4 separate regions of the Homo sapiens genome follow, and all the other regions are linked to region 2. Evidence: promoter capture Hi-C in 16 types of primary human blood cells and fetal thymus (Javierre and others, 2016). All regions are on one chromosome and are shown on one strand. Each heading gives the region's core, a stretch centred on a gene start or on the middle of the fragment in contact. The rest is flanking DNA. Distances are from core to core; before and after follow the strand shown. Region 1 has its middle 110 kb from the start of REEP3. Region 2 holds the start of ARID5B (AT-rich interaction domain 5B). Region 3 holds the start of NRBF2 (nuclear receptor binding factor 2). Region 4 holds the start of REEP3 (receptor accessory protein 3).

What was found. The method cuts DNA at HindIII sites, captures the fragments that hold promoters and counts their contacts. A CHiCAGO score of 5 or more calls a contact.
Region 1: a fragment that was not itself captured here is called in contact with the fragment with the promoter of ARID5B in region 2 in 1 of 17 cell types (fetal thymus); the score reaches 8.6 in fetal thymus.
Region 3: the fragment with the promoter of NRBF2 here is called in contact with the fragment with the promoter of ARID5B in region 2 in 6 of 17 cell types (naive CD8 T cells, monocytes, M0 macrophages and 3 more); the score reaches 8.5 in naive CD8 T cells.
Region 4: a contact is called between the fragment with the promoter of REEP3 here and the fragment with the promoter of ARID5B in region 2, in 2 of 17 cell types (fetal thymus and total CD8 T cells). The highest score is 8.4, in fetal thymus.

The regions. Positions count from the first base shown.
Region 1 is chr10:63,629,096-63,634,175 of GRCh38, forward strand. No RefSeq gene overlaps it. Among named protein-coding and RNA genes, the nearest start is that of REEP3, 110 kb to the left of the region's middle. RefSeq lists enhancers at 1-130, 521-700, 711-760 and a silencer at 1,231-1,560. The HindIII fragment of the contact is 955 bases long and covers 1,803-2,757 here.
Region 2 is chr10:61,898,199-61,902,959 of GRCh38, forward strand. ARID5B (AT-rich interaction domain 5B) reads left to right here and starts at 3,501. Exons shown (of 10, transcript NM_032199.3): 1 at 3,501-3,532; 2 at 3,961-4,215. The coding sequence starts at 3,512. RefSeq lists a silencer at 2,023-2,192 and an enhancer at 3,191-3,693. The HindIII fragment of the contact is 3,094 bases long and covers 1,192-4,285 here.
Region 3 is chr10:63,130,322-63,135,187 of GRCh38, forward strand. It overlaps NRBF2 (nuclear receptor binding factor 2), which reads left to right and starts at 3,007. Exons shown (of 4, transcript NM_030759.5): 1 at 3,007-3,179. The coding sequence starts at 3,150. RefSeq lists silencers at 2,824-3,073, 3,284-3,553. The HindIII fragment of the contact is 9,214 bases long and covers 1-4,866 here.
Region 4 is chr10:63,518,674-63,523,092 of GRCh38, forward strand. REEP3 (receptor accessory protein 3) reads left to right here and starts at 2,728. Exons shown (of 8, transcript NM_001001330.3): 1 at 2,728-2,904. The coding sequence starts at 2,873. It also overlaps a transcript of JMJD1C not described here. RefSeq lists an enhancer at 1,924-1,973 and a silencer at 2,364-3,413. The HindIII fragment of the contact is 3,716 bases long and covers 234-3,949 here.

The DNA.
Region 1 (5,080 bases), core at 1,030-3,529, 1.7 Mb after region 2:
CTGATTAGGGCGTTAAGAGAGGGAAATGCAGCTATATATTTAGTGGTGTAAGCAACCCATATGTTGGCCTTAGATACTTTTGACTATTCTAAGACCTCATACCAAAAGAGAGAAAGAAAAAGGAAAACGAAAAGGGCAGCGTAGTCGAGCGTTGCTTGCAAATGTAACTGCTTAAGCACATGCCCACACACAACTCCAGAAAAGGAAGTTTAATTTGCAACATCTATAAAATAACGACAGTTGTATGGTAGGACACAGAAATCCCAGCGGTAAAGTGTGATTGGGCTTAGCTATTATTGGAGTGTTAAAAGAGTACCGGGAATATATTTGGCTTGTCCTGTTCTGTCAGTTCTGTAGGCCGGTGGATTAAGCTGATAGAAATGCTTTTTGGTTGATTTAAACCAGATGCTCCGACTATTTTTGTCCCGTTTGCAGGCGCAGAAGCTCTGCATAAGGCAATACTGCCCCCCTCGGCCGACCGCCAACTGCAAGGCGTAGGAGACTGCTCTCCACTAGCCACCTCGGCCATAAAACCCTTTCAAGTCCCTATTATTATTCCAGGCACATTCCAAGGGGATTGAGTCACAGAGTTCACTTGGCTTTTCTCCTGCCCTGAACTGCCTGTACCAGGTGGAATACGACTCTCAACTTCAAATATGGAATCCAAAAGCAGTCAAAGAGCGCTTTAGAGCAAGCCCCAGATGCGAACTCTACTGCCACTTCTCCCCCTCCCCCAACTGGGGTTTGCTGGCTGCGCAGCTGTAGTCCCACGCCAGCACTAAGGTCGCCTGGTCGACAAATGAGGGTTTTCTTTGGGGCATCCTGTAGAGCTGTCCTATTTTCTCTACCACTTTGAGAAGCCCCAAGGGCTGCTTGGCGGCGAGGCACAGACTGGGCTGAAAACTTTTCCGTTGGGCAGTGCGTCCCGGAGACCCAGGAGGCCCAGGCCGGGAGCCCAGGGGGCTGGAGGTTCTGCTGGCTTTTAAGTCTGCTAGGAGGGAAAACTCCCAGCCCCTCCCACGCGTCCTCCCAGACTCGCCGGCCGCCTGCCCCGGGCGGGGAACGCGCACATCTGGCGGCCCAGGAGCCACATCTGATGCACTAACCCCCGCACCCAGATGTCCAAGAGGCCGGGGGAGTCAAAGAACGCCAGGGGCGGGGCGACCGCGGCTGCGGCTCCTCCCTCGGGCAGAGGGAGTCCAGATGCGAGGGACGCCCTCCAGAGCCGAGCTGGGCCGGCCGGGCAGCTAGGGTGCTGGGAGGTTGCGGTGCAGGGTGGGTGGGTGCAGTGAGGCTGGAGCCACGCTGGGGGGGCTGGGCTGGCGGGGGGAGGCTGGAGCCGCGCCGGGGAGAGGGAGGCGGCGGTTGGGTGCTGGAGGGCGCTGGTGCCGTGCCAGTGGGCGGTGGCGCCTTACGCCACCCGCCCCACCCCCGTCACCGTGCCCGCCCCACTGCGTGGGATTTTACAACCTAGGTCCCCGGGAGGTGGTGGTGGAGGGAGGGGCGGCGGGGACGTTTCCGGGGCGGGGGAGGGGCGCACTGCTCCAGAACTGGACCGAGGGCGGGGCTCCCCTCTGCTTCTCCCCTCTGTTCCAGCGCTGAGACGCAGGCCTTTCCTGGCGCGAAGCGACTCGCCCCGGAGCTCCCCTGCACCGTCCTGGGTGTCAGGACGCGTCAACCCAGATGACCCGACCCGGAGATCCTGGATCCTCTGCCCTCTTCCCCCTACCAAGTCCTTAACCGGAGAGGGAGGAGCTACCAATGTCCTCCAGACGTTCTCCAAAGCCCGAGCTGCCGGGAGAAGCTTGCTCAAGGCGGGTGCGCCCCTCAGACGTTTGTTTGCACGCAGGGGTTTTGACGTTTCGCTAAGCAACAGCGTTTGCCAGGGAATCAGGGCTGTTTCGAAGAGCTTGCGTCTATTTGATGCTCCCATCTTGAACAAATCGTTTCCATTCGATTTGTTTAACCAAGGCGAGGGCGGACTATGTTGTTACTTAAAAGTTATTCTTCATCCAAGCTGTCCTCAGATTTTCATCTAAGGGTGTCATAACACCCCAGGTCGTTGCGCAAATGTTTTGTGACAATTTAGAAAACCAGAGGGGGGAAATATCCTTAGAGAAAAAATCATAACCAACAAGAAAATTATGTTAAATGATGTTGGTCCTTTTTCATCGGATGGTCCCAGTTGACACATAGTCTTTTACAAAACCAGTGACTATTCACAGTCTTCAATTTATGGCACATCTCCCGGTGGGGGCGAAGTGCATGAATGGGTCCCACCTTATTCACCAGCTGAAACTCTGAACAAGCCTTGGGGTTTCCTCTCCCAAAGACTGCCAGGCTTCACTAAGAATCAAAACAAAACAGGATACTAAATGCCTGCGGTAAGTTTTCAAATATGAGCTCTTCCATTGCTTATTTCTGTGAATTGTGGCAAATTGCATAATGTCTTTTGCCCCTGGTGCTGCTTAGAGACAGGGTCTCACTGTGTTGCGCAGGCTAAAGTACAATGGCACGATCCTAGCTCGTTGCAGCCTCAAACCCCTGGGCTCAGACTATCCTCTGGCCTCAGCCTCCCAACCAGCAAGGGTTACAGTCGCATGCCACCACACCTGGTTAATTTTTTATTTTTGTTTTTTAGAGATAGGGGACTCACTATGTTGCCCAGGCTCGCCTGAAATTCCTAGCCTCAAGCATTCCTCCCAGCTCAGCCTCCCAAAGTGTTGAGATTACAGGCGTGAGCCACCATGCCTGGCAAGCTTCATCATTTCTAAAATGTAACTGTATATTTTAGAGTAGCATAGGAGTGGTGTAAGGGTTAAGGATTAATGATACTGCAAATCAAGTGCTTAACACAAAGTTTAATGCATAGGAAGAACATAATTGTTATTATCAATGTGAGTAGACTGTTTACCACCAAAATGAAAGGTGTGGGCAATGGTAACTGGGTAGCCTCCAGAGATCCTTTTTTAAAAGGAGTATGAGTTTTAATACATTCGTTGAATGAATAAAACCCACAACACTCTAGGCACATCTCCAGTCCTTGCCCTGGCAGGGCTTTCAGTCTAACTAGAGGAAATTGGATGAAATGATAATGATGCATACCTAGTCTTTCGTCATACTGTGAAAGCCTTTTAAAACATGGATTTGACTTCTGGGTTTCCCATTATAACCACTTCCCAAAGAAGATTGTTCGTTCTTTCAGAAAATTTCACTAGGGTGATGATAAGGTATTAACAGATGTATGTTGAAAACATCCTCTTCCTTTTTCTGTGTAGCCCCTTCTTCCTTTGGAATTTTAGAAGAATCTGATCAAGGCAACCTCTGTATTAAGTGAAAATTTGGGAACTCAAAAATATATTAGATGCACAGAAAGTGCAATTCTGAAAAGGTCAGGGCTATTGCGTATAGAGGGGAGCTGCTGAAACTATAGGAGTCTTTTAAATTTTTCAGGCTCAGCTTCCTTTGCTTTAAAGTTAAAGAAGGGTTGGACTAGTTCTTCCTTCCTGCACTCAAACTCTTTGGTTTCAAAGGTAGCTGTGTCCAGGTATTTTCTGTGTATTCCAGAGCCCTGACCAGGAGGGGAAGGACTTTGAGAGGCTTTGGGCTTGACAAAATATCATGACCAAGTGTGGTGGCTCACACCTGAAATCCCAGACTTTGGGAGGCTGAGGCAGGAGGATCGCTTGAGCCCAGGAGTTTGAGACTAGTGTGGGCAACATAGTGAGACCCTGTCTCTTAATAAAAAAAAAAAAAAGGAGAAAGAGAAAAAAAAACCATGGAGTGAAGAGAGGCTAAGGAACTCAGACCAGTACTGAATTATAAAGCAAGGTAAAGTGTCTATAACCAGGTATATATTAACGTATTTCTTTCTTTTTTTTTTTTTTGAGACAAGAGTCGCGCCCTGTCACCAGACTGGAGTGCAGTGGCATGATCTTGGCTCACTGCAACCTCTGCTTCCCAGGTTCAAGTGATTCTCCTGCCTTGGCCTCCTAAGTAGCTGGGACTACAAGGCGCATGCCACCATGCCCAGCTAGTTTTTTGTTTTTTGTTTTTTTGTTTTGTTTTGTTTTGTTTTTTTTAAGTAGAAATGGGGTTTCACTATGTTGGCCAGGATGGTCTCGATCTCTTGACCTCGTGATCCGCCTGCCTCAGCCTCACAAAGTGCTGGGATTACAGACATGAGCCACCACGCCCAGTCGTATTTCTTTCCTTTTTTTTTTTTTTTTTTTTTGAGATAAAGTCTCACTCTGTCACCCAGGCTGGAGAGCAATGGCATGATCTCGGCTCACTGCAACCTCCACCCCCCGAGTTCAAGCAATTTTCCTGCCTCAGCCTCCCGAGTAGCTGGGACTGCAGGCGTGTGCCACCACGCCCAGCTAAATTTTGTATTTTTAGTAGAGACGAGATTTCACCATGTTGGCCAGGCTTGTCTCGAATTCCTGACCTTGTGATCCGCCCGCCTCAGCCTCCTAAAGTGCTGGGATTACAGGTGTGAGCCACGGTGCCCGGCCAACATATTTCAATATATATAGTGGATATATTAATATATACATTGGTATATATATTTTAAAAATAAGAGGTACCTATGTATTTATTTCTGGCTTATCTATAGTATAGATTCTGTATACACACAGATCACCCTGTGAGTCTTCCTAATACCTACAAAACAGGTAGAATTTTCTTCTTTTGTCTATGATCGTGGTCTGAAGGATGACTTTTCAGCAGCAGAAGGGACTGGAATGGAAGGTGTCCATAATTTTGGCTGGAAGAGAGAAGTGTGCCCTCTTGTGGGTCTCCTGTCATGTTCTCAGAAAGTTCCTCAGGATAGAGCTGTGGCCTTTGTGGTCAGGGCTCTAGTCCCATTTTACCTTCAGATGCCTCCTATGCAATTTTTTTCTCATCATCTTCCCTGAGAAATATTTCCCAAATAATAACACAGCTCCCTCATCTCCCTAAATTACCTCCCTCACACTCCACATCCAGTGGATCAGCCCTTCCTCTTAGGTCTAATTTTTTTTAAAACTTTTATAAGTTTAATATTGTCACTGTATGTTTACATATTCATTGGTACAATTTA
Region 2 (4,761 bases), core at 2,251-4,750:
TTTTTAATTTTTTACCGTGTAAATACACGAGATTAACTTAGAGAGTTGGATTTTTGGCTAGTAAAGCAGCAAGAATATAGGTGTGTGGGTACCGGATTCTGTGTTTCAGTACAAGAAAGAGCCCAGAAGTAGTGGGTCATATAAACATATACTACTCTCCCTCCCACCTTTTATACACAGCAAGTTCCAGCTACAAGCTTTTTTATAGATAAATAAAGCAGTTGCTTTCATGATTATAACTGTCCTGAATGGATTGTCTTCTTACAACATTCAATCTGTTTATGAGTATTTACTTTACATTAGCCCAGGGACCCTGCACTGCAGGAGTTTGCCTCTATTCCCCTGGGTGTCGGTGTCTCAAGTCTTACATCTGCTCTGTGATTGATGGAGCCTTGAATCCACGTTATTACTCTCTCACAAGCAGAAATCAAACAGGCTATTAACTACATTACTTCAAAGAACTGTTTCAATACAATCTCCTTATCTTAATTGAAACTTTCTTTGTATGGATATTTGCTACACAGATAATTTACAGGTGCCTATCAAACATCACATTAAAGAAGAGGTAAAATTGAGGGATTTTTGGGGGGGAGGGGTAAACACTATTGTGATCTGTAATTTTAAAAGGCATTCACAGTATTGGTTTGATTTATTAGATTTATTATGTTCACGGGGGGTGGGGGCAGTGCTGTAAAAAGAGGGGGAAAGATACCCCTGTGATTCGGTTTTGAAATTTAGCATTCATCTGATTACAAGGCTGCGGATATTCAAAAATATTCAGACCCAGATCCCTGCAATTGTTAACATCTCAGAAACCTTATCGGAGAGATAAGGCAGCATGCATCCTAGTTCAGTGCCTACCTTGAAGAGCTGAAGAAACAGGGTTTCTAATTAGATGAAGTTCGTTACACACTTAAAGACTTACAGCACCAAAGACAGTAGAAGTAGCTTAGATGCTGTAAAGAGCTGTATAATTTTTTAAGAAAGAGATTTAATATACAATTGAGGGATACCCTCAGGCATTCTGTTGAGGTTTCCTGCATAAATGCTGCTGCATTGGTCATACAGGAAACTGACTCAGAGTCGATCTCAAATACGATCTTGTCAAAATACTGCAACTCAAGTTTTTTTAATATAGGATTTCTTGAACTGGATGTATATATTTACGCTAACACGACAGAGACTAACAGAAGCTTTAGGCATATCTATTTTTAAAAAAGACATGTAAAATGCCCCTCAGTCAAGTCCATTCATATGTTAAAAATGAACAAAATGGGCGATTCTAATCAAACGTCTGCAGTATGCATTATAAAGTTAAAAAGAGAGAGAGAAAGCGCAGGAGAGCTATAATTTCTCTTTGTAACCCATGTTTATAAAATAGAAAGATCAGATGAAATTTCAAGAGATAATTAAAGAGTGATGTGCAAGTCATAATTTGGCTAATGTTAAAGATGGGAGACTGCGAATTGTAGTCCTCCATGGTGCAGAGTTGTGATATTACTTTAAATTATTAAAATAGTTTTCGACAGCTTTCAGAATACCGGCTCTTTGGCATGGGCTTTTATTATTTATTGTAATTAGAGGATCTGCCATTTTCTTTCGTTTATCTCTGTGTGTATAGAAACGAGATAGATTTTGCCTTTTATTACTTCCCCATATTCTGAATCAAAAATGTGGTTTAGATAATGTTAAGTGCCCTAATTCTTACTGCAGCGGACGCAGACGTTATGAAAAGGCATAAAAATACACACAGAGGGTCTTTCCACCTCAAGTCACTGAATATGAGGCATTTGTGCTCTGCCGGGTGTATTAACTTCAGCCATGTGAATATAATTTTCATTAAAGTAATCCTGTTTCAACTAGATGCTGTGACTAGAGGTGAAACGTTGCGAAAGCGTTAAAAATAGCTTACTAGTAATTTCAACATCCTGTAATTTTATCACAGATCAAGTTTCAACTGTCATACTATACAGACCTTATTCCCCATATAGTACATGTTTACTTTTTTAGCATGCCAGACCCACTTTGGAAAGATTGGTGCCAATATAATAAAAGCTGGAGGGGGGGTGTGCTGGAAGGAGTGGGAGGAGAGCGGGGAAGGGGGTGGGGGAACGTGGGGGAAGCGAGTACACCATTTTAAATCAACACTGCGAAAATGCAATCTAGCCTGGCGGAGGACCGGCAGCTGGGTCGGAGCTTGCGAGGGCTTTGCAGTCTCTGCCTGTTCCTTGTTCTGTCGCTCTTAAGTTTCTCTGTGTTTGCATAATAGCCGTGCATGCAAACCTCGCAATGCTCCAGGGCTCCAGAACAATAAATATACACATTTAAAGCCTTTATTGTCTTACGGTTCATGCCCCCGGTTTTCAACAGCTTAATTTCTGGTTGTATTTAACTAGTTTGCAAATGGATTTTTTCAGTTTCAAACTATTATTGAGGAAGCTCCCCTCCCTTTTTTGGCGGGGGAGGGGATGGGGGTGGGGTAGGAGTCGGTATATTATTCCTGTAGCGCTGGGTTATATAAACACATTATCATTTGAGAGCGCCCTTGGCGTCCATCAGCATTGTAAACACGTACTAGTGTATATACTTCAAAATTAAAGAATGCACACGCAGAACCGGGAGCCTGAATTCATATTCTGAGCAGACTCGCTTCTCGCATTTATTGATTTATCATGCATCGTTTATTGTTCCAGTCCCTAAATGCAGTCGCTGTCCGTTCAATATTGTTTGCGAAATCCTAAGATGTGTGTGCACTGCTCACTTGTCTCTTTTTTTTTTGCTGAGTATTTTTTTGCGAAGCGAACAAATGCATTAATATTTATATGTTTATATAATCGATAACCCACTTTTCCCTTCCATGTAAATAGGCATCAAAAGATAATTTAACAGATTAGTTCTCGAAAACATGGCAGTGAGGAAGCGTAATTTAACTATCAAACAAATCTACATGTCTAATAACAGCAAATCTGCTAAGAAGCATTAGAAAGAGGAGCAGCGCCCCGGAATCTCTGCAGGAAATGTTCTTTATATTAGACATATACAAGCAGGTCCTGTCAGATGCACAGTGGAGCTCGCTACCCCTCCTCTCCTCCAAAAATCTCATCAGACGATATCCCAGACAGGAGCGGTTAGAGAGAGAGGAATCACATCTCCACACAGTTTTAGGGTGCTTTTTATTTTTACAAATCTTCTTGTGTGTTTTTTGCCTTGATCCATCCTCTTCCCGCCGAGATCGTATGGCGCCTTTCTCTCGATTATGAATTTGATCAATCCATCTTTGGAAGAAAACCCACATAGTTTTTTCAGGAGCTGAAAATTGAGTCGTTATAGAAATATTAGGACATATTTTCAATCATTTCGGTGCCCGAAGGGAGGCAAGAGCTCAGTTTTATATTGAGACATTACGCCGGCTGAAGGCAGAGAATGCGTTTCCCTGCCAGGACCTGATGCAATCCATTCAAGCCAACAAGTTTGGAGAGAATGTTGAGTTCAATCAATTCAGAACGTCGAGATGGAGCCCAACTCACTCCAGGTATTTCGCTCTCCTCCGCTCCTCCGATCCCGGCACCCCCCGGCACCCCCCAACCCCCCAGCTCACCCACACCTCTGCACCCACCCACACCCCCCACAAACTTTTCACCAAACTTTTACCCTCTGCATCCCCCAAAATCATTTTTATTGTTTAAAAAAATCCCTGCACTGATCATACATACATAATGTAATTTTACCGCCTCAAATGGGGAGGTGGGTAGAAGTGGCGGTGGGGGGCCCTGAGTTTTTTTTTTTTTTTTTTTAGGGAAGCAGAAAATTTGTGGGTGCTATTATTTTTCCACCCAGCGTTATATCTGTTGGGTCGTCTGTATTAAGAGAGTGGATGTCTGTGTGTAAATGTGTCTGGGAATAGATGTTTGTGCTCTGATGGCTACATTATTTATTTGGTGTTTTTTTCCCCCCCTGCAGTGGGTCGGCTCACCGTGTGGCTTGCACGGACCTTACATTTTCTACAAGGCTTTTCAATTCCACCTTGAAGGCAAACCAAGAATTTTGTCCCTTGGCGACTTTTTCTTTGTAAGATGTACGCCAAAGGATCCGATTTGCATAGCGGAGCTCCAGCTGTTGTGGGAAGAGAGGACCAGCCGGCAACTTTTATCCAGCTCTAAACTTTATTTCCTCCCAGAAGACACTCCCCAGGGCAGAAATAGCGACCATGGCGAGGTGGTAAACCTGTCTGTCCCCCTCTTCTTTCTTTATTATTTTTCCCCCTAGTAATGCTTATTACAGGGCAAGCTTGAAAATACTGTATTCACTTCTGCAGGCAAGCAGGATCGACTCCTTTTTTAAAGGGGTAGCGCCACTAGCTGGGGCTCGAGTATTTTGCCATTGTCAGAGTTTGGCTGTCAGCTTTACAAAGAGGATCCAACTGCTGATTTTAGTCAAGATCAAATAACTTGTTCGAGAAGGGTTTTGTTCAAGGATGTGTGTGTGTGTGTGTGTGTGTGTGTGTATGTGTGTGTGTGTGTTCATTTGCTCTCCTGCTATTGCCTCTTGAACATCACATGCTTTTTATATTTTTTGCCTTTTGAAAATTTACCTTCGTGTCTGGCTCGGTCGTGTCTGGGTGGATTTCTTTCGGTGGGTTTCGATATTGTTCTTTTTTCAAAGTAAGTATTTGATATGTTTAAGAGGGCGGAAATTACGAAATGGAGGCAGAATGAGATCAAAAGCTATTGAGTTGGCAAAGACGTGTTGAATAAAGTGATA
Region 3 (4,866 bases), core at 1,757-4,256, 1.2 Mb after region 2:
TACAAAAAATTAGCCAGGCGAGGTGGCAGGCGCCTGTAGTCCCAGCTATGTGGGAGGCTGAGGCAGGAGAATGGCGTGAACCCCGGGGGTGGAGCCTGCAGTGAGCCAAGATCGAGCCACTGCACTCCAGCCTGGGTGAAAGAGCGAGACTCCGTCTCAAAAAAAAAAAAAAATTATTTTGGTCTTCTAGCCTCCAGAACTGCTAGCCTCCAAATTTCTGTTGTTTTAATCCACTAAATGGGTAGTAACTTCTTACAGCAGTCATAGGAAATTAATACAGTGCCCAAGATAGAACTTTTCATTTTCCATACAAATTAGCTCCTTCCTATTGTTACCAGGGGGTCTTTGTTCTTAGAGCTCCCAAGATGGTGGCAGGCCACTTCCAAGATGGCGGCAAGCCTTTTGTTCTCTGACCTGGGGTTCTTGGCCTCACGGATTCCAAGGAATGGAACCTTGGGCCATGCAGTGAGTGTTATAGCTCTATTAGAAGCCGTGGGTCACAGAAGAGAACCGTGGAACCCAGCAACTAGTGTTCAGCTCGATTAGGACAAACCCTGGGCACTTAGCCTTGCAGGAACAATGGCGAGCCTCTAGCCCGATTGGGAGCAGCAATGGGCGCCTCGCTGGATCAGGAGCACAGTGGACACCCTGATGGATCCAGAGGGGTGGAAGTCAGCGGCGGGTCTGTGATGGCAGCAAACAGCGGTGGTGGACGGTGAGTGAAAGCTCAGCTCAAGCTGTAACAAACATGGACCAGAAGAGTGTGCAGTTGCAAGATTTAATAGAGTGAAAACAGAGCTCCCATACAATGGGAGGGGACCCAAAGGGGGTTGCCACTCCCTGCTCGAATGCCTGGGTTTATATCCTGATCATTGTCCCTCCCCCTGTGCTCTCAGGCGATATATGATTTGACTATTTCTTTACCTTCTGCTTCTAGCCTAATTTGTATTTTAGTGAGCCCTCTTTACTACCTGATTAGTCGGGTGTGAACTGAGTTACAAGCCCTGTGTTTAAATGTGGGTGTGGTCACCTTCCCCAGCTAGGTTTAGGAATTCTTAGTTGGCCTAGGAAATCCAGCTAGTCCTGTCTCTCACTATCTTGTCCACTTGGTTGTTTACTTTTTTATTTTTTTATTTTTAGAGACAGAGTCTCTCTGTGTCACCCAGGCTGGAATGCAGTGGTGTGATTGGTCTCAGCTCACTGCAACCTCTGCCTTCCAGGTTCAAGCAATTCTCCTGCCTCAGTCTCCCCAGTAGCTGGGATTACAGGCACGCGCCACCACACTTGGCTACGTTTTAGTGCTTTTAGTAGAGATGAAGTTTCACCACGTTGGCCAGACCAGTCTCAAACTCCTGGCCTCAAGTGATCTGCTCTCCTTGACCTCCCAAAGAGCTGGGATTACAGGGGTGAGCCAGTGTGCTAGGCCACTTGGTTGTTTAAATACGAGATTTGATTCTTCCATTTTCTGTATGCTTTACTGCCATTCCATCACTAACTCCTCTCAACCTGATGCCCAAAAATATATCTTGAATATATCTACTTCTCTTCCAAGGTTTCCGGCACATGGTAGAAACATGATAACTATGTAATGAGTGGATGCATGACCCAATCTTCCCTACTTCCATTCCAGTCTGAGCGCCCATAATTAGTCAATCAACTAGCTTGTCTTGGTTCTTTTTCCTTAGGCCTTCCACAATCTATTCTTCACATTACAGGGAAATTAATCTTTTCAAAACTGTAAATTAAAGCAGATTATTCTCTAGCTTAATATCCTTTACTTATTTCCCAATGCACTTTGAGTAAAATTCAAATGTTTCATTGTGCACTGCAAGGACACCTATGTTTTGGAAGTTTCCTATCTCTCTGGTATCTTCTTTTGCATCTCTCTGAAATGCTGCAGCTCCCGCCACCCGACCTCCCCGCCTTTAGAGTTGAGGCATAAGACATTTCCTTTGTCGAGAAGGGTCTTTGTTTAACTGGCATTTTAAGGTTTAATCTTAAAGATTACGCCCTTAGCCAGGTGCGGTAGCTCATGCCTATAATCCCATCAGTTTGTGAGGTCCAGGAGGGCGGATCATTGAGCTCACTTGAGCTCAGCAGTTCAAGATCAGCATAGGCAACATGGCGAAACCCCATCTCTACAAAAAATACAAAAATTAACCTGGCCTGAGCACTTGTAGTTCCTAGCTACTTAAGAGACTGAGGTGTGAGGATCGCCTGGGGCAGGGGGCGGGCAGAGGGAGGTTGCAGTGAGTGGAGATTGCGTCAGCAAGACACTTTCTCAAAAAAAATCACGCCCCCCATGAAAGGCTTTCCTTTACCACCCAACTCCACCTTGGTTACTCTATCACAGCTCCCTATGTGTTCCCTTTCCAGCATAAATCACAACTATTTGTCAGTGAATTCCATGACAGAACGAACCTAGCTTTTGTTTGGCACATAATTGTTAAATGAATGCAGTATTATATTTGGCTAGACCAAAATTGTTTCCCTATCAGTTTGTGAGCAACTTGAGGGCAGAGCCCTAAATCATTCGAGTGTGCTGACCTCTAGGGGGGTTAGTCCAGTGCATGGTCTAGAATTGCTCAAATCGGCCTTTTGAAAAAATGAATCATGTACAATGATAAAGGTGTGGACAGGACCACAAGTAACGGTGTAACGATTAGCAGATTTAAGGAAAAGTCAGTCTAAAAGGAAACGTGAGAAGCTAATTGCAGAAGACAGCCATTTCAAGTCTTCAACAGCAAGGCTGTACCTCCTCACGTGACTTCAGTGTAGACTTTAAGAACCTAAACTAACGCTTCTCGCGAGAGGAAAGATTGACCGCTCGCAAGCGTACATCAGCTGGTGCCCCGCCTTCCCTGGGCCCCACCCACTGCCTGTCCTCATTCCCACCTTGAACCAGCCTTTTGCGCGTGTGACGTCATGGCGCCGTGCGTGGCCTCGGCGGTGGCGCAGGGGGCGGGCCCGCGGCGCGGCGCCGGAGGAGGAAGTGGTGAGGTTGTTGCTCCTTCAGCGCCTATCGCTGGCTCTTGGGGCGCAGAGAGGGGCCGCAGTCTCCGCGGCTGCGTCGAGCTCCCTTGCAGTCCCCTCCATGTTCCCCGGCGCCACTACTCCCCTTCCTAAGGCCGCCGCTTACCCCGGGGTCTATGGAAGTAATGGAAGGACCCCTCAACCTGGTGAGTGTCCCACAGAATATAGCGTTCGTCTTGGGTGCCTTTGCCTCAGGAGCCCGGCCCCGTCCCCGGCGCGTCGGCTAACCCTTTAGGCTGGGAGGTTGGTTTGGCAGGAGTGGTCGCAGAGGCTGTGAGGGGCTGCTAGGCAGGCCCTGGCCCAACTGCGGCTCCAGGCTAGCCACTTCAGACTTTGCCCTCCTGGGGGATCCCCGGGAAGTCCTGGCGCCCCCTGTCGCGGGGCCCCGGGCGAGGGGATGCCACCACCTGGGGCTGCCACCTCCTCTCTGGCTGGGGGAAGTCCTCTTAGCGCCACGTAGCCACCTCCCTACAGCCTGGAGAGGCACTGAAGCCGGCCAAGGCAGAAATGGTGTGATACTGGTTTTAAGTTCTAGCAGCAGGGTCTGAGTCTGAGTCGCCCCGCTTTGGAGAGGTGGAGGAGTGAATAGCCTCCTCACCCTCCACTTCCCCCTCCTCACCCTTCACTTCCCCCTCCTCACCCTCCACTTCCCCCTCCTCACCCTCCACTTCCCCCTCATTTCTCACATACATTCACATGCATAAACTGAGTCTACCGTCTTCCAAATATATTAGAGACAGCTGGGAAAAAGACAGCCGTTCCTGTATTTAGCTCAGATTCATCAATTTAGGCATCATGAAAGTGTAATAGGTGTTTGCTGTTCTCAGGAAAATGGCTGATAGCCTGTTTACTTGTGTTTTAAGGCGTTTCAGGTGTTGCAATTAAAAAACAACACAACAGAACCCCACTAACAACGGGAAGCATGAGTTCTTTTCAGACTGGCCATTGCATCTTTTAGTTTTCCAGAGAGGTTACCCATTTTGGATGTAAAAGTCAGATTACTTAAGGTTGCACACAGGAAGAACTTTTGAGTCACAGGTTTGCAATTCATTTGCGATGGTGGAATTGAAAGAAAGCTCTATAGAGGATTCTTTTCTCACATTAGAACTCTGAGTCCTAGAAGAGCAGTAGAGTCAGGTGGTTTAAGACTCTAGGTTTTGAAGCTATGCTGCTTGGATTTGAATTCTAACCTCGTCACTTGATATCTGTGTTACCTTGGGCAAACTACTTGGCTTCACTCGGCTTCAGGTTTTTTGGGAGGATTAAAGGAGTAAATAGGTGTAAAGCACTTAGAACTGTACTAAGTACATAGTACAGTGTAAGAGTTAGCGATTATAACCAGACCATAAGCCCTTAATTTAAAATCTATTTGTAGAATAAAGGTTTGGACTTGAGCTTTAAAAGCCTAAGATTCTCGGACCAAATCACTGGTGCCAGGTTAACTGTTGTGAGGCGCCCCTCCCTTTTAAGTTGGGTCTTGCCCCAGGTGGTAGGTATTTACACTTAAGACGAATTGGACTACATTTGCGAGTTTTTTTTAACCAGGGAACTGGCCAGGCGCCGGGGCTCACGCCTGTAATCCCAGCACTTTGGGAGGCCGAGGCGGGCGAATCACTTGAGCTTAGAAGTTCGAGACCAGCCTGGGCAACATGGCGAAACCCGGTCTCTACAAAAAATACAAAAATAGCCTGGCGTGGTGGCGCCCGCCTGTGGTCCCAGCTACTCGGGAGGCTGAGGTGGCAGGATCGCTTGAGCCCAGGAGGTGGAGGTTGCAGTGGGCCGAGATTGTGCCACTGCACTCCAACCTGGGCGACAGAGCGAGACTCTGACTCA
Region 4 (4,419 bases), core at 1,478-3,977, 1.6 Mb after region 2:
ACAAATACTACATGAAAGTCAGGCAGATATTCTTAAATCATGCAAGACATGGGGACACTTTGTTCAGGACTGTCCCACACCTCTCTAGCCTTCACTCAACAAATGCAAGTTGTTAGCTCCAATCATTACAACAATCTAAAAAATGCCTTCCAGTTTCCCCTTGGAGGGCAACACCAAGCTGGACCCACCGCCTTAAACACAGTTCCGCTATCTATCCCAGTATAATGTAAACAAGCTTGGGAAGCATGAATTAGATCTCCAGTTCTGTTACCAATGACCTATGTGATCACCCGCCAGTTGAGTTAACTTCTCTAAACCTCACTTTCCATGGTACCAAAAGGGAATAAACGCTATATGGCTTTTTAAGTTGTCAGAATGACTCAATGACACGTGTATAGCACATAGTAGGTGGTTTCCAACCCATGGCCTATTGAGATGTGAAAAAAGGCACTGTTCCAGGTAAATAGAAAGAAAGCAGCAAAAAGTAATCTAAATGTGGAAGAGGCAGAAGATATAATAAGCATACAAAATGAAACTTAACGCACAGCAGTCTAGGGACATTTCAGAGAGCAGCCAGCCATCCTACCTAGGTTGCCTTCAGCAACCCCTGAAGGCATTAATGTACTAGGATTAGCTGAAATAATTAATATTCACAATGATGACCTCCAAAGTAAAAAGGCAAGAAAGACATTTTTAAGAGACTTCCAATGTACGTGGCTGAAATTTTTTAAATCTGATGCCTAAAGAGTGACTGTATTTCACAAACATTATTCAAATTTTTATTGGACGTTTACCCTATCTGAGGCTAGATAGTTGGAAAACACAAAGAAATCTAATACACCATGTCTGTTCTCAAACATTTTACCATTCAGTACATTAGACATGGTAGAGGCAGAATGACACAGATAAGAAATAGAAATTCAAGTAATAAATTATGAGAGCACAGACAAAATTAGGAATAATTGTCCCTGAGGAAAACCAAGGATGTCTTCATGGCACAGGCCACTGAAAAATGAGAGTTCTGATAGGTACAGAATGGGGAGCAAAGTGTTAAGGGAAAAACGAAATCTGGGCAAAAGCACTGAGCATGAAAATACAGGTTGGCTGAAAGAAGAGAGGTAGGGAACGGGTACATTAGGAGTTGGGGGTGAAAGTAGTAAAAGTAAAGGCTGTAAAGCTATTTCAGGACCTTTCATGAAGGGATCTGAATGATATTCAAATTCATTTGAGTTTTATTGAACAAGAGAGTTCGCCAAAAAACTGGTGCTTATGCAGCACACCTGATCCTCAAATAATGCTGAATAATGGCCAAAAATAAAAGATTCAGAGTTAAATGCAAATTATTACTCAAATTCCTGAAATAAAAAGTCTTGACATGAATTAATAAGCGAAAAGAACCTAACCCAAGAGTAGAAAGTAGCTTCTGAGCTTGTTTCTTAAATAATGAAATATTACCCAATTTATTGACTGAGAACTGAAAATAATTTAGGATAATCTGTTGTGTCCTTTGATTGTCTTCCATGCAAGTCAGAGTATTTCCTAAACATATTATTTAGCAGTGCCTCATATCACCCTTGAAAGGCAAGAGACAGACTACAGTATTATTACCCCCTTTTTATCACAGGGAAACTGAGGAACAAGAAGACAAAATTACAGTATGGTCACAAAAGCCATCATATTTTCTAGGACTTTAATTAAAGGCTCCAAGCCTACATTTCATCTTTTATTCTTCGCACCATCTGAATACTAGAATTATCTTTTACTATCGTCTTAACTGGAAAAAATAAAAATATCTAAACTTTAACATCATTTTCTCAATTTGGTACTGTCACAAAAAAAAAAAAAAAACAGTTTTAAAAGTCTGCCCTTGAAATGATATTTGCAAGAACAGCAAGGTGTAAGCAGTAACCCAACCTCCAAAAAATACAGTTGTAAATCTTACAGCTGTAATATAGTTGTAAATCTTAAGACAGGTCAGGAATCCTAGACCCAGCCTTTACTTTGAACATCTGGCAGGCCTCAGGGAAATAATGGAGATTCGTGTCTGTAAACAGTCTTTGCAGATGCTCTGATGAAAAGGTGCCCTAAGAGGCCCAGAACAGTGGTATCACTGCACCCACTACTGCAAACATGAAATCCTCCTCTGTCCCTCCCTGCATTGCACCACGAGACTCGTGGCACACACGGAGGCCTGTGCAAGAACCTCTCGACGATTCCTTTAAAATGTGGTAATATAAGGACGCCTTTGGTGCTGGGCCTCCGTAAACACTGAGGATACCGGATGTGGCCAGGCACACCTCAAAGTCTTGGCTCTCCAAAACCAGGGCCTGGTCGAGAGTTTTATTGGACACCGAGTTCCTGCGAATATCTCACTTTTCACACAGGCACTGCCAATCCCTACCCTCCAGTACCCTTCCTCAGCCTCCTGCCCCACTCTCGCCGCGAGTGTGGGCGTCCCAAAGAGCTAAGGAGGGTAAGGTTGGTTAGAGCGCAGGGGCCAAGGCCGCGGCAGCGAGGCCGTCCAGCGCGGGCTAGGATCCCGCCAGCCCAGCCCTGGAGCCCGGCCGCCTGGCCCCAGCCCTGGCCCGGGCCAACGCGCCGCCGCCACCGCCTATCAGCGGAGCGCAGGGGCGGGGTGCTGTCCGGACTAGGCTGCCGGGCCGGCGGGCGGGGGCGGGCGGGGACGGGCGGGGGACCGACCTCTGCGCAGCCCAGGCCGCCGCGCGCACACACCGGGCCCGGCTCCTGAGGGCGCCAGCGCGGCCCCGGGGAGCGCGAGGAGCCGGCGAAGCGCGCGGCCTGCCGTTGGCGGCCTGGTCCGCAGCGCCCTGCGCCCACCCGCCCCGGACGTGGGGCCCAAGCCCCCGTGAAGATGGTGTCCTGGATGATCTCCAGAGCCGTGGTGTAAGTGCCTCTCACTGCGCCCTGCAGCCGGCGCGAGGCCCAGGGGAGCTGTGGGAAGGGGAAGGAGCCGAGAGGAAAGGGAAGGCCTGGGCCTGGGCGGGGACGGGGTAGCCCGGCCTCGGGCCTGCCGAGGGTCTGGGGGAGCCCTCGGCTTCCTCACCTTGGTCCACGTCGCTGCGGAGCTCCCTGCGACGGCCGAGGGCCTAGCTGCGGCGACTGCGGCTGCGACGGCGGCGGCGGCTGTGGCGCTGCTCGGCTGCGTGCGGTGCGGCGCGGCGCCCCTGCTCCGGCGGCGCTGGGTGGGCAGGCGCTCAGGGCAGGCGGCGCGCGCTCCCCGCTCCTGCTCCCCGCGCAGCGCGGCACCGCCCTGCGGGCCCGGGAGCGGCGCGCCTCGCAGCTGCTCCCTGCGCAGGCTCCGCAGACGCCGAGCGCGGGAGGCTCCGCGATCCTCCCGAGGATGCGACGGCAGTGCCGAGCCTTTGTATCCCGCGGCTGATGCGTTGCGGTGTCTCTCTTGGCGGCTGATTGCCATTCGGTCACGTGTGGTAGGAGGAGAGATTTGTCTAAAAACCGGAGACCGCTCCCAGCCCAGGATCCCTGGGAAGGGTCCTAGTTTTCCCAAGATTTGCAGCTTACCGAGAAAGGTGACACCGGCTGCTCGCCCAGATCCCCGAATTCGGCCCTGTCTCGGCGGAAATATTTGCTAAGTGATTGAAAGGCTGCAGGTGCCTGTTGCCTTTGTTCAAATTATGGGTTCATTTCATTGTTCTCCTACCAACAAGTGCTACAGGTCTGTAAGAAAAAGAAATTCCTTGAGTTGGTGGTGTTAATCGTGTAAATGTATTTGAATACAGTTTAAACTGATTTTCTCTCATCTCCATTTTACCCCTCTCCCCGATTAAAAAAAAAGTCACCAAGTAAACAATGACGTAGTTACAGCTAGGGCCTATGAATTCATTATTCACCTCTGTAGTAGTGTTATCTCAGAAGGTTTCATAAAGGTATATGAAAAAATGTTTATGTGAGGGGGCAGGCTTCTCTGATAAGCTTTAGAATTTAGGAAAAATAACATTACCAGACTTTTTGTTAAAAGGAGCTAGATTTTCTGAGTTTGGGGTTTATTTTGTTTGGAAGTGAATTACTAGCCCTATTTAATCAGATTTGCAGCACAGCATTCAAAATTTTTCATTTGATTAAATCGCAAAGTTTCTAGTTTTAAAGCCTCAGAGCTTCCTGTGTTCCCCTGTACGAAACTAAAAATCAAGATATAAACAAAAGGATACCACAGATGCCTTCAGATTGTTTTTCAGCCTTTTCCTGGCCTCTCTTTTGAGTCTGTCATTTATCTAATTCAGGCATACCTTTCTTGACCTAGTAGATGTCTATCAACTGTTGTGTCCACACCTAGAAAATCAAGTGCCCTATTAAGAAGCTGTACTTTACAAAAAAAAAAAAAAAAGCCTCTGGATTTCTTTGACCAGTTCTTCAGCTGACAGAAAATTGTGAAGCACTTTT